Regions from separate parts of the Homo sapiens genome. Here region 1 is linked to region 2. Evidence: promoter capture Hi-C in human tissues and cell types (Jung and others, 2019). All regions are on one chromosome and are shown on one strand. The core of a region is centred on a gene start or on the middle of the fragment in contact, and the rest is flanking DNA. Distances in the headings are between cores, read along the strand shown.

Evidence for each region. The method cuts DNA at HindIII sites, captures the fragments that hold promoters and counts their contacts. A contact is called where the count stands out against the background at its distance.
Region 1: a contact is called between a fragment that was not itself captured here and the fragment with the promoter of PRPF8 in region 2, in 1 of the 25 tissues and cell types used here (dorsolateral prefrontal cortex).

Annotation. Positions count from the first base shown.
Region 1 is chr17:1,553,695-1,557,576 of GRCh38, reverse strand. All of the region lies in intron 2 of PITPNA (phosphatidylinositol transfer protein alpha), which reads left to right. Among named protein-coding and RNA genes, the nearest start is that of PITPNA, 7.2 kb to the left of the region's middle. RefSeq lists a silencer at 1,075-1,275 and an enhancer at 1,692-1,761. The HindIII fragment of the contact is 8,751 bases long and covers 1-3,882 here.
Region 2 is chr17:1,682,080-1,686,162 of GRCh38, reverse strand. It overlaps PRPF8 (pre-mRNA processing factor 8), which reads left to right and starts at 1,296. Exons shown (of 43, transcript NM_006445.4): 1 at 1,296-1,383; 2 at 1,581-1,691; 3 at 2,462-2,630; 4 at 3,870-4,034. The coding sequence starts at 1,592. The HindIII fragment of the contact is 7,907 bases long and covers 72-4,083 here.

The DNA.
Region 1 (3,882 bases), core at 110-2,609, 130 kb after region 2:
CTGAACTTCTTCCACTCTCCTCTCCTGGCGCAGCCTTGTTCTTTGCTTCCTTCTGAAATCACAGCCCCACCCCGCCCCAGCTTCCAGTTAAACTCGAGTTTGGGTGAGGTTCGTCAGCCAGTATAGTGCCTCCAGTCACTGGGCTCCGTCTCTCTTTCCTGCAGTGTCAGCATGAAGCTCCTGTGATAACTTCCACTCTGTTCCCAATATGAACTGCACCTTTGAAAAATGAAATCAGGCCAGCAGAGCCTGCAGCACATTTAGTTGAGACAGACATCCAGGCTTGTTGGCCCCCGAGAGGGGTGGGCAGACACTGGCCCTTTAGAGGACTGCCTCCAGGGGTGGGCTACATATCTGATAAGAGCTGTGGGGACCTGGGGAGGGGGCCAGAGGTGGGCCTTGACCGTGATCTTGGGGTTCTGGGAAGGGCAGAAAAGAGAAACGAGACTGGGGAACCTGGGAACCAGGGAGAATGAGGGAATGGCTGGGTAGATGGCTCTAATCCCTGTAGGCACTGGGGATGTACCTGGGGCCTGAGAACCAGGTGCCTGGGCTGACAGGTGTTGGCTTGGAAGGGTCTTGTTAACCCACCTGCTTTGGCCATGCTGTCTTTATTTTTTTTATTTTATAATATTTATTTTAAATAGTGGAGATAGGGTCTCACTCTGTTGTCCACGCTGGTCTTGCCTCAAGTAGTCCTCCTGCCTCAGCCTCCCAGAGTGCTGGGATTACAGATGTCAACCACTTCACCCAGCCTGTGCTGTCTTTATTGAAAATAGCAAGCGATGATTTTCCAAACCAGAAGGCCAAGCAGGAAAGCCCAGCGCGTCCCTTGCCCTCAAACTCAGCTCTTGGGGAGGTGTCCAGTGACGTCCTCTCTGCTGTACAGGATGATCCCACCCCGATCGTTAGGAAGATGTGCCCCAGGAACTCGGGATTTCCTTAGTGTGGTGATTAGGGGTGAAATGGATCCTTTGATAGGGAGTTTCTTGATGGAACGAAGGGCGAGAGTGTCTCTGAGAAGTGCTGCAGACCAAGGAGGGCCAGCCTGTCCTGGAGCACCTGGGGCTGTTCTTGGAGTAAGGCTGAAGGGCCAGACACTGATGGCTTATGGTGGGGCCAAGACTGGAAGGAAAGGGGAACTTCCACCTTGAGAGCATCCACAGTTGGCGGGTGTTCACTTGTGATGGTTTTTCTGCAGCATTGAGGAAGTGGTGGGGCGGAGTTGAGTAATCAGAGCCTGAAGTCTAAGCAGAAGCTTGGGAAGTGAGTGCTGATCAGGATTCACCTGTCTGCCTGGCAGTGGTCAGCCCGTTCTCAGCAAGAAACCATTGACAAGAAAGTACCACGTGGCCTGGGTAGGGTCGAAGCGGAACTTAGTTTCAGAGAATTAGAAAAATCTTGGAGGGGAAGGCCGAAGAAGAAACAATTCATGATCAACCTTCTCAGAGTCTTTGTCAGTAACCCCATCCCCATCCTGACTTAACAGTTTCTATGGGAACAGCTCAGCATCTTGTGACTGGTGGATTCACTTCCTAAATTGGAGGCCATGACTTGAGGCCTTTGCAGTTTTCTGATTTAGGGGAAAGTGAAGAAAGGGAAAGAGAAGGTCATGCCTTTGTAATCATTCCGATGGCCTGCATCAATATTTTGGGGGCAGAATTAGCTTCTGGGTGGCCAGAGCCTTTGGTCTAACCCTGAGTGTCTGGGCGTTGTGCAGCAGAGCGAGAAAGCCCTGGCTGTTTGACGGGGTGTGTCCACCAGTGCTTCCTGGCACAGGTCGGCCGGGCTGCTTCACTTCTTGTTTCCAGAGATTCACGGCACCAGTCCCCCTCTGGTACCCAGCCTGACAGGGCCATGTTGGTGGGACCAAAGCTGTACTGTTGTTTATGACGTGTTTCATGTCAGTATTTCAGGCCCACCCACTGGGCTCCCCCTCCCAGATTGCCAAAGTTGTGGAGTCTGTTTTTCTTAGTTGAATGTCTTAGTTCTCTGGGATAGGTGAACAGATCTCAAGAGCAAGGAACATCATCGCAGGTCTGAGGAGGCTAGATTCCCAGTCCTGTTGGAGTTTTTTAAATCTGATTTAATGATCTGACCCTCCCACTCCTATCTCTGCCCCATCCGAGTCTGGCTGCTTTCCCAGGGGGCAGAGCAGCTGTGCCAAAAGGAACTCTAACGTGAAAAGCGCCCTTCACTTGTAGCTTGTGCAGGCCAGTCTTGCTTACCCCTTTAGATTAACAAAACTGCCTTCACTTGTCTCATTGGGATTAAAGGATCAGAATATCAAGAGAGATTGAAGGGGGAAGATGCCAGCCAACAGGCTGATCCTCTTAGAACCTGCCCTCTGATTCCTGCAGCTGAAGAGAAACCAAATGAAGGCGATTAGTCTCTGCCTGGGGTCCCCCTTCCCAAGTGGTACCACTAGCTGGGAACCTCGCCCCCTCCACCAGGCCCTCTCCCCAGCCTGTCCTTTAGGATTGCTGAGTCAGTGGTTAGATGTTCTTACGGCTCTTCTCTGAAACGGAGTTACTGCTCCTTCTTAGGCACCCCTGGCTCAGCCAAGCCCTGACCCACCTGACGGGTTTTCATGTGTGCCTAGCTGGGTGGTGGACTTGGAGAGGCACAGGGACAGCTTGGGGCTCCAGGGGGGCATTGAGGCAGCACTGATGCAGCTTAGGATTAGCAAGGTCAAGGTGACTGGCTTTCACCCATATGTTCCTCTGTATGGATTTCACTGAGCCTCGATTGCTGCCCCTTTTCATGGCATTTTGTTCTGGGATTTTGCTTTGAAAGTTAGGGCTCTTTCAGCCTTGTGGTGAGCAGTGAATTGTCCTCGTCCTCTGCTTCACTTTCCAGATTTTGCCCAGAAATTTCCCTGCAGTGCTTAGGAAGCTGCCTGGTAGAGCAGGTTTCTAAGTTTGAGGCGAAGCAGCTCTGGAAGCTGCCTCTGTCCTTGCTGTTGGAGGCAGTGATTTAAGTAGCAGTTGCCTAGAGATACATCCTTTCTGTTTTAATCTCAAAGAGAGAAAAACCCAGTCCCTGTAATCCCAGCTACTTCGGAGGCTGAGGCAGGAGGCAGGAGGCAGGAGAATCACTTGAACCCAGGAGGCGGAGGTTGCAGTGACCTGAGATCGCACCACTGTGCGATCTCTGTCTAAAAAAAAAAAAAAAAAAAAAAAAAAATAGAGAAACACCCTTGTCTTCCCCCCGGGGGTGCCAGGAGTTGGGCATAGAGCTCGAGGAAACCCTTTGTCCCCCTCCACCCCCCAGCATGTTGGGTAATCCCATAGCTTTTTTCCTTTTTCTCATACTCCCTAAGCAGCCATGCCTGATTAGCACCGGCAGCGGTAGGAAAGACACATCCGTTGGTGTAGACATAATTTCCTGCCTCAAATGTTGCTGTTCATTTTCTTTTCACCTTGTTTTCTCCTCTGGACAGCTTCTCAGAGAAGAAGGCGGAAGGGCTAAGTCTGGGCACTGCCTAGGTCATTGGCCCATCCTGACAGGGTCAGAGGAGGCCAATCATGTTGACTGGTGACTTGATAGGGTGGCATGTGACCCAAATAAAGGAAAACTAGGTTTTTGCCATGTAGTAAGTGCCAACACAGAGGGTGCACCCAGCCGGCACAGACTGTGGGGCAGGAATCTGTAATATCTCATGTGGGAAGCAGGAATACTTGCTTGGCCCCACCAGGAATCTGGAAAATGTCAAGAGGTTTCATTGCCTGAAAGAGCTACTTGCGGGGTGAGGAGAGGCCTAAGACTAGAGAAGAAGCGAGTAGATGAGCCAGTTTTACGATAGAGGTTGCGGATTTCACAGAGCGCTGAGCACCTTTCTTTGACAAGAAATCAAGTCTTAGGATCTATTTAAATGGGTGA
Region 2 (4,083 bases), core at 47-2,546:
ATCCATCCATCTCCATCAAATCTTTAACAATTCTCCTCTGTCTTTTTTGACTGTAGGGACCTTTAGAACACCCAGCATTAAAAAATAGATTTCAGGCCGGGCATGGGGGCTCACGCCTGTAATCCCAGCACTTTGGGAGGGCCGAGGCAGGAGGATTTCGTAAGGTCAGGAGTTTGAGACCAGCCTGGCCAACATAGTGAAACCCTGTCTCTACTAAAAATCCAAAACTTAGCCGGCAGTAGTGGCGCGTGCCTGTAATCCAGCTACTCTGGAGACTGAGGCAGGAGAATTGCTTGATCCTGGGAGGTGGAGGTTGTGATGAATTGAGATCGCGCCATTGCACTCCAGTCTGGGCAACAGAGTGAGACCCTGTCTCAAAAAAACAAAAGGAATATTTTTTAAATTTTTACCGTTCTGAAAGCACATTGACATCCTTTGAATTTTTTTCTAATTATTTCACTTTGATTTGTAAATTCTCAACTAGATTCAGGGGCTGTATGGGTTACAATTCCTCTGCACCCTCCACAGAATTTCAGACTTTTTTTTTTCCCCCGAGACAGAGTCTCGCTCTGTCACCCAGGCTGGAGTGCAGTGGCGCGATCTTGGCTCACTGCAACCTCCCCCTCCCGGGTCAAGCGATTCTCCTGCCTCAGCCTCCCGAGTAGCTGGGACTACAGGCGCCCGCCACCACGCCCGGCTAATGTTTGTATTTTTAGTAGAGACGGGGTTTCACCATGTTGGCCAGGCTGGCCTCGAACTTCTGGCTTTAAGTGATCCGCCTGCCTCGGCCTCCCAAAGTGCTGCGATTCCAGGCGTGAGCCACCGCGCCCGGCCAAGGTCTTAATTCTTGCCTGCCTTTCTGCTCCCCTGTGAACTCTACTGGTTGTCTTTTTTCCTGCTTTATCCCTCGTCCTCGGTAGACAGTGATGGTTAAATGAATGAATGCATGAACAAATGACTGTCCAGGAGCTAGTACTGCATTGCATGTACACATTGATGACAACAGACATCGTACAATGCGCAATCTTGGCAAATTTATTCAAACCCTTTAGACTTCGCTCTCTCACAGTGCGACGCCGGGAGCCCATCACACGCTGAGGTCTGTCAGAGGCCCCAGAAACAGCCTCGGAAATGGAGGAGGCGGGGCTTCACCCCGACCACACCCCCTTGCGTTCAAAGCCTTTCCGCCTATGGGCCCGCCTCCTCGGCGCAGTGTGCAACTCTAATTGGTCGTCTCACTAATCCATCTGAGCACCTCGGCGCCGACTGGATCAACTGCTGAACTCGGGTTGCGCACTTCCCGGCGCTGGGAACGCGGAGCGGACGCAGTCTGGCCGCCATTGCGCTGCGGGGAAAGCGGCCTCTTGTGTGAGGGCCTGTGGGGTGCGTGGCAGGCGTTTAAGGCCGGGCTGCGGGAGGCGTGGTCGGGTCGGGCCGAGTGACCGAAGGGGTTAGGCCGGGCGGGGCTGGATGCACTGTGTGGCGGGACTGCAGGCCGGGGTCCCCGGACGCCTTTCTGCTGCGCTTCTTGTGGGCCCGGGCCTGTGGTTAGTGAATTTTTCTATCCCGCCGCTCCCCAGATTCTCCGGATATGGCCGGAGTGTTTCCTTATCGAGGGCCGGGTAACCCGGTGCCTGGCCCTCTAGCCCCGCTACCGGACTACATGTCGGAGGAGAAGCTGCAGGAGAAAGGTGAGGCGAGAGTGTGGAGCGGCGCGCGGGCCGGAGGCGGGGCGGGTGTGCGCGCGCGCAGGCGGGTGGGGACCCTCCCCGTTTGGGCAGCTCCTGAGGTGTCAGCTCCCTTGTTATTTCCAGTTAATTTTTCATCAAGTCATTTTAAGCGCGTATTATTTGCAAGCGCTGATCCAGCGGGGGTACAGTAGTGACGGAGACAAAATTCCTGTCCTTACGGGGTTTAAATTACAGCGGGAGAGACAGAGAATAACAAAACCTTGAAGCTCTGTAATAAAAATGTCAGGCCGGGCGCGGTGGCTCACGGTTGTAATCCCAGCACTTTGGGAGGCCCAGGCGGGCGGATCACCTGAGGTCAGGAGTTCGAGACCAGCCTGGCCAACACAGTGAAACCTCGTCTCTACGAAAAATACAAAAATGAGTCGTGTGTGGTGGCGCGTGTCTATAATCCCAGCTACTGGGGAGGCTGAGGCAGGAGAATGGCTTGAACCCAGGAGGCGGAGGTTGCAGTGAGCCGACATCGCACCATTGCACTCCAGCCTGGGAGACAGAGTGAAACAACCTCTCAAAAAAAAAAAAAAAAGTCAGATAGTGATCAATGTGATGAAAGGAAAAACAGAGTAAAATGGTAAGGGAATTGGCAAGGGGTGCTTCTTCCTGCTGGTGCCTGCTTCTCCCTCACACTCACTGACAGGAGCTTACCCTAGGGCAAGAGGTGAAGAGGATTAGGGGGAGGGTGTGCAGGCCTTTAAACTGAGGTGCCTTTCCAGCTCGAAAATGGCAGCAATTGCAGGCCAAGCGCTATGCAGAAAAGCGGAAGTTTGGGTTTGTGGATGCCCAGAAGGAAGACATGCCCCCAGAACATGTCAGGAAGATCATTCGAGACCATGGAGACATGACCAACAGGAAGTTCCGCCATGACAAAAGGGTTTACTTGGGGTAAGGAACATCCTGAAATAATTTCATTTGGAATTTGGCCCTTTTCCCTTCTCCCTGTCCCACAGTCTTGGATTGATGCTTTGACAGCTCATCTTGGTGGATATAAGAGAAAGGAGAAAACCAGTAGGAGTCTCTGATAATTTCTACATCTTCCACTTTTGCAGTCTGTTTCCCCTCTCTTCCCGATCTGGGACTGGTGCTTTAATTTGTCCTGTTGATGATATTATAAGATGTCCCTGGCCAGGCGCGGTGGCTCATGCCTGTAATCCCAGCACTTTGGGAGGCCGAGGCGGGTGGATCATGAGGTCAGGAGATCGAGACCATCCTGGCTAACACGGTGAAACCCCGTCTCTACTAAAAATACACAAAATTAGCTGGGCGTGGTGGCAGGTGTCTGTAGTCCCAGCTACTTGGGAGGCTGAGGCAGGAGAATGGCGTGAACCTGGGAGGCGGAACTTGTAGTGAGCCGAGATCACACCACTGCACTCTGGCCTGGGCGAAAGTACGAGACTCCGTCTCAAAAAAAAAAAAAAAATGAAAAATAAGATGTCCCTATGGTTGAGCTGGTTGAAGTCCAGAGTGGGATACTGTGCATAGTGGCAGCCTGTCGCTCCTCAGGGACCTGAATTCTGTGTTTGGGGTATTTAATTTCAGAGGTTTCCCTACTCCTGTTTTTTCTGTGGCTCTAAACTGGGCTAGTACAGGTACAGATGTCTTAGCAGATTCCTGTTCTATTTGGACACAAAAATGTTTGCCATGTAATGAACTGGAAGTTTTGTTTATTTCAAAAAATACTTAGAGAACTGTGCTGGCTGCTGGGGATATAGTAGCGAGCAGAGGGTAACAATCTCCGCCTTTCTGCAGTGTGCGGTCTAGTGGCCTGACAGACATGAGACAACTGGTGATAGTGAAGTATGGTGAATACTTTATTATGATTTATGGGAAGATGCGGAGGGAATAGGATGTGAGAGAGCCGCAAAGCTGTCTCCAGAGGGATAGCCGTTGATTTAGAGGAGCTGATACCAGCATTGTGGGATTATGACGTTTAAGAAGAGTGGTGCAAGGTGAAGTTGGAGAGGGAGAGGCAGGGTTTCTGGTTAGGAAGGGCCTGTGGGCTAAGTTTGGGAGTTTGGATTGTAAGGTAGGACTGTGGAACATGAACATGTGGCTTCTCTGCATGGGACAGGTAGCAGAACACCTCGTCATTTCTGATAGCCTTCTCTTTTTCTAATGTGCCAGTGCCCTAAAGTACATGCCCCACGCAGTCCTCAAACTCCTGGAGAACATGCCTATGCCTTGGGAGCAGATTCGGGATGTGCCTGTGCTGTACCACATCACTGGAGCCATTTCCTTCGTCAATGAGATTCCCTGGGTCATTGAACCTGTCTACATCTCCCAGTGGGGGTGAGAAAGGCTGAAATATGGTGGGTGGTGGTGGTGGTGGTGGTTGGGA